Regions from separate parts of the Homo sapiens genome. Here region 2 is linked to region 1. The links are contacts of gene promoters, found by promoter capture Hi-C in blood cells and fetal thymus (Javierre and others, 2016). All regions are on one chromosome and are shown on one strand. Each heading gives the region's core, a stretch centred on a gene start or on the middle of the fragment in contact. The rest is flanking DNA. Distances are from core to core; before and after follow the strand shown.

Evidence for each region. Contacts are between HindIII fragments. The CHiCAGO score rates a contact against its expected background, and 5 or more counts as called.
Region 2: a fragment that was not itself captured here is called in contact with the fragment with the promoter of ITGB8 in region 1 in 1 of 17 cell types (monocytes); the score reaches 5.7 in monocytes.

The regions. Positions count from the first base shown.
Region 1 is chr7:20,329,516-20,332,149 of GRCh38, reverse strand. It overlaps ITGB8 (integrin subunit beta 8), which reads right to left and starts at 1,250. Exons shown (of 14, transcript NM_002214.3): 1 at 217-1,250. The coding sequence starts at 343. ITGB8-AS1 (ITGB8 antisense RNA 1) reads left to right here and starts at 388. Exons shown (of 3, transcript NR_110120.1): 1 at 388-500. RefSeq lists silencers at 290-529, 1,000-1,389 and enhancers at 1,470-1,759, 1,860-1,929, 2,017-2,629. The HindIII fragment of the contact is 8,395 bases long and covers 1-2,634 here.
Region 2 is chr7:20,575,331-20,577,964 of GRCh38, reverse strand. No RefSeq gene overlaps it. Among named protein-coding and RNA genes, the nearest start is that of ABCB5, 39 kb to the left of the region's middle. The HindIII fragment of the contact is 2,702 bases long and covers 1-2,634 here.

The sequences.
Region 1 (2,634 bases), core at 1-2,500:
TCTGATAATTAGTCCTTGCTGTCGCTCCAGGGCAGAAATGCTTGACACCTGGCCTCTAGGCCATCTGTGCTGGAGGACGCTGCCCCGCACCCGCCCCCTTGAAGTTCTCTGATGACCGCAACTTACCTGGCCGGGATGCTCTGGCCGGGCAGCTCTTCGTGCCAGCCCAAGACCTTTGGGGAAGAGAAGAAAACAAAACAAAACAAAACAACTTACCACCTTGGCCCAGTCCAAGAACAAGTGAAAACACCCAGGCTGCCCAGAGGAACGAGGCGGGACCTCGCCGGTCGTTTTGCAGGCAGACAAATGCAGCGGTAAAAAAAGCCAGGGCCGAGCCGCACATAATGCAAAACAGCCCGCCCCGCGCCCGCCGCCTGACTGCCTTCCGGACGCGGGCTCGCGCCTCCCGGGCGCACCTCGGGGCCCGCGGGCCGAGTGTCGCTAGGACGTTTTCCGCAGGCCTAGCAGGCGGACCCCGCGGCTCGGAGCAAGCGGTGCAGGTAAGCGGGCCCGGGCACCGCTCGGCATCTCAGGGCCCCTGCGGCCCTCCCGGCTCGGCACGGCGGGTCCCGCGGTCTCCGCGAGAAGCACCTCCTTCGACGGCCAAGGGCCCCGGCGGCGACTGGAGAGAGGGCTCTGCAAGGGCTCCGCAGCCTGCTCCGGGACAAAGAAAAGAGCTTTTGTTTCTCTCCAGCCGGTGGGGCTTCTGCTGCATAAATCAGCTTAGCGAAGAGCCAAACACAATCAAACCCAAACAAAGCCCGAAGCTGGGGGGGAAACCACCCTAATGTACATTCACTGGGTGATGCTGGATCTGTGGGAGGGGACGCCGGCGAGGTCGAGGGGAAAAAAGTCTGTGGCGCATCAATCAGCGCAGTTGCTTCCACAGGTGGGCAGGGAGGCCAACACCATTAGTTGCAGCTTTGCAGCCCCGTCTGCGGAGCAGCGGGCAAAGACAAGTCGGCAGCGTCCTGGCTGGCAAGGGAGGAAGCTCGGGATGCCAGCAACAGGGGGAGGCGGCTCTGGGAGCGCCCTAGAAGCACCCGCCGACACCCGCAGGCACAGAGCGAGGCATCGCCGCTCCCTCCCTGGCGGGGAGTGGGGCCTGCGGCTGCGAGCGCAGGAGGGGAGGTTCCGCGAGGTGCCGGAGCCCGGCTTCGCGGGGCGGGGGCTGCGTGCCCTTGTCCTTTTCGCCTCAGTGCGCGGCTCAGGCGTCCCGCAGTCCAGAGCCCGAGTTGCTGGCGCGCTCTGGGGTGCACACGGCTAGGATGCGAGAGAGGCGAGGCCGGCGATGGGCGGGAGAGGGGTGGTCCTGCTCTGGCCCCCCGGGGGGCTCCAGACCTGCGGGTAGCCGGGTGCACTCAGGGCAGAGAGTTGCTAGGAAACCTCCCCACGCTACCGGAGCGCCTCGCCTCGGCTGCCCGCAGGCGCGGCTGCAGCCCGGGCAGGAGCAGCAGTAACAGCTCGGAGCAGCGTGGGCGGGACATTGGTGAGGCATGAAGTCACCGCGGCCCACACTCGCTCTTTGTTTTGCTCACTCCAGCTCTTTCTTTTCCCCCTTGGCTCTGATAGTTGCCATTCCCATCGTTCACAAGAACTCCTGAAGCGTAGCCGCGCAACAGGAATGGCACGCCTCGTTCCCTTCTCCCTCCTCCCCCGAATCCTTGCACCCCAACGCTCGCGGGGGTGGTGGGAGACTCGCTCAGCGCCAGCGGCAGCTGCGAGCAAACCCCAATCTCTCACCCCCGCGCTGCTCGCCGCTTTGTTCGGAGATACTCACTGCCCCGCAGCTGCTGCATACAAAGTGGAGTCAAGGGACCTCCCCTGCCCCCAACGCCCTCTACTCAGCACTTTGCTTGCAGTTAGGAGCTCGTCCTCTACCCCACCACAAGGCTGCCCCGGTGTCCCTAGCCTTTGGAGAGTTGGACCAGTCTGCAGGGGCTGTTCCCGGAGCGACTGGCCGAGATTTCTCGCTGCTCCTTCTCTGCTCAAAACCTTAACCCTGGACTGGACAGCCCTGTTTTTCCCCAGCGTCTGGTGGTGGCTCTGGGCTTTTGCAAGTTACAGTGGGTCTTTTGATCTTAAGCGTCACCTTCCCAGTAAACGGAACAAAAAGTTACAGACAGCAGCAAAGCGGGGAGAGGGGAGCTAAGGAGAGAAAGTGGAAGGCACTTCTGCCTGCTTGCAGCTCAGAAATTTAGGTGCAAGTAGGGTGCGGGTGTTATGCTGGGCAACTGCCCGGAAGCAGCGCGCCTCCTCGGGTCCTGTCATTACCACGCTAAGTCGAGGGAGGGAACTCAGTCCCCCGCATTGGAAACAAGGCAGTGTTTCCAGTTTAACACGGTGATGGTTCTCTTTTCCCTCTAGGGGCAGGAGCGATTCCCATTCGAGGAGTTTGACCTCTCATTTTAATACAACACCCGCCTCTTAGAGGCAGCAGACCAGTCCAGCCAGGTCAAGGTGAAATATGCGGGAGTTTCCCCCCTTCTTATTTAATAGTTTCCGTCTCCTTATTTGTAGTTAAAAAAAAAAAAAAAAAAAAAGTAGGAGGCGCGGTCTCTCTCTTTCTTTCTGTTGACTGAGTGAATGGAAAGTACCTGGTTAATAAACCACAACATCGAAACTCCCCCTTTC
Region 2 (2,634 bases), core at 61-2,560, 250 kb before region 1:
TGAAATCATGAGCTGTGTGTACTAGAAACATTCAAGTGCAGCTAAAATGGCCACGTGTCAGAGAAGCTGTAGAGGGATTTCAGATTTGAGTGGGAATGTTAGACCAAGTGACCTTTAAATCCCTGTGGTTTAAAATTACCACGATGTGAGTTAGTTCCTCAACATCTGGATTACATGTATTTTCAGGCCTGAAAAATAAGAGCTCAATCTCAGTTAACTCTGATTTCCCTGGAAGCCAAAACAGAAAGGGAAACTATATTCTGAATTTGATAAAAAGGTAGAAAATTAGTTTATGAGGAATAGCAAACTTTTTCTTTGCTTTCATTTCAGAGGGCAATTGAATACAAAGGTCAGTGTTTATCTGTTAAGCTCCCTCATTAGAGGAAGTATGACATAGCAGGGGCTTTAAGGTGGTTTTAGAATATAAATATTGCCAACTTCATTTGCATTTATATCTCTGTGTCATTGAGCATCACCATCTTTAATTGCCATCCATGGTCTAGTTTTTGACACAGGTCTAGGAATCTAGGAATCTATGGGTCCCATAAAACATTTGTAATCTTTAAAAGCCATGCATTTATCACATATTTATCAATTAATCCAAATCTAATAAAAATAATTATTATTTTTCTTACCACTAAGTATAGTTTTAACAGCAAAGTGATAAAAAGAATTAAAAGCTCTTAACTCAGTTGAGATTTTGATCTCTTTAAAACCCACAGTGGCATAGTAGTCTCCGCAGGTGTAAGACCAAAAATACTTCTTGTCATATTATTACTTGTGAGCTGCTCTCAAAATAGCAGTTTTTTAAAAAATAAGAAACCACTTTCACCCTCTTATAAGAATTGTCTTATTCATACAGTACAGATGTTGGGAAATGAAGACCTATAAAATCAAGGATAGACTAACTTTACAAAACAAAGAAAAGAAAGAATCATATTCAATCCTGCTTGGTTAAGCAAAATACAATAGTGAACATATATCTTATGGGTTATATATCTAAGACCAGGAAGGTTACCTAGTTATTGTAGAAGTAAAGCAAATGGAATACAATGCACATATAAAGACCAGAAACATAATTATAATTCCATTTTTTGGCAATTGAATAGAAAATAAAAAATTTCTTTTTGATAAGATTCCCAAGGAATAGGAATGCTTATAATCAATCAACTTATTGGGAGCAAGACTTACTGATTTAGTTCAACTAGGTGAATTAAAAAGTTATTCTGCATAAAATCCTAAACTTGGTGCTGAAGAAATCATAAAATGAGACACAACCTTTACCTTAAAGAGTTTACCATCGGGCACATATCAGTCAAATGAGCCAGGAACTATAATAAAAGGCAATACATTATGCATATTGTAACTGAGGTATAAACAAAGTACAGTGGATTCAAAGGAGAAATTGCTCACTTCCTATTTGGGGTGGAGAAAAGATAAGGCTTCTTAGGAGAAATGACATTTGAAAAATGGGTGAAATATTTACAGGTTGAAAAAATGGAGGAAGGATGTACCAGGCAGATAGATGATTAAAGCTGTGATGACAGGCAAGTGTGAGTCCTGAGAAAGTTTGCCGGAAGAGTGGAGCAGATGTATGTGAGGAGGTGAGGCATAGGAGCTACTACTGGAGATGCAGGCTGAAGCCAGGTGTGGTGCATCTCCTCACAAGGCTAACGGGTCTGCATTTATTTTCACAGGTGATGAGGGGTCATTTAATGTATGGAGTTGAGGCATGACAGGATCACAGGGCTGCCTGGAGTCTTGTATGCAGATTGTGCACTGCAAAATCTTAGACAGTGTCATTCACCTGGTGACCCTGTTGATACCTATATTTCGTAGGACCGTATTTTAGTCATTATAAGTGTACTATATAATGAGAAGTTTCTTGACACACGGAAGTCAAGTGTCTTGAAGATGGGATGCCTTTCCTGATTTGTACAAATGCACCATGTGGGGCAATGGTAGCTTGTGACAGCTGTGCTCTGGGTAGACACGTCTTAAAACAGAACATAGAACTGATTGCTACAAGGACAGCCTGGAGACTTTGACAATAGTACACAGTAAAACAGGAGCTTCACTTGGAAGGGAGGCTGATAGAGAATCTAGGTGGGAGGCAATGAAAGAAGAACCCATACATGACTTCAGTGATGGGTGACAGATAATGGTGGCCAACAGGAAATAGAAAAGTGAGAAGGGAGATTTATTAAGGCAAGGGAAAGGGAGGCAGGGAGAGGGCAGAGGTGCACACACTTTGGAGCCAGCATTGTTGGCAGAACATCCAGGTGGATGTGTCAAGTGTGAGGCTGAAGTGCTGATCTGGAGGGCAGAGCAGGAGCTGGGCCAGAACCATCCACATAAATGTGTTTGCTGGGTCCCAGGGAATTAATGAGATAATGACAGAGCACAAGAGAGAGGCGAGCAGAGTGTAACTAGTATCAGAAGCAATCCTCGTTCTTATCATATTTTGCTCTCTCACCCCAAAAGAATTAGGAATAAATCTTGTAAAAGGAGCCTGCCTTCTTAGTAATGTGGTTGTTGGATAGCTTGTTTTATTTCCAGTTCCTGCCAACCATCCAATGCAGTCAGAAAGCCAGCTTTTATCCAAAAACATGCCATTTTTTTTCATTATAAGAT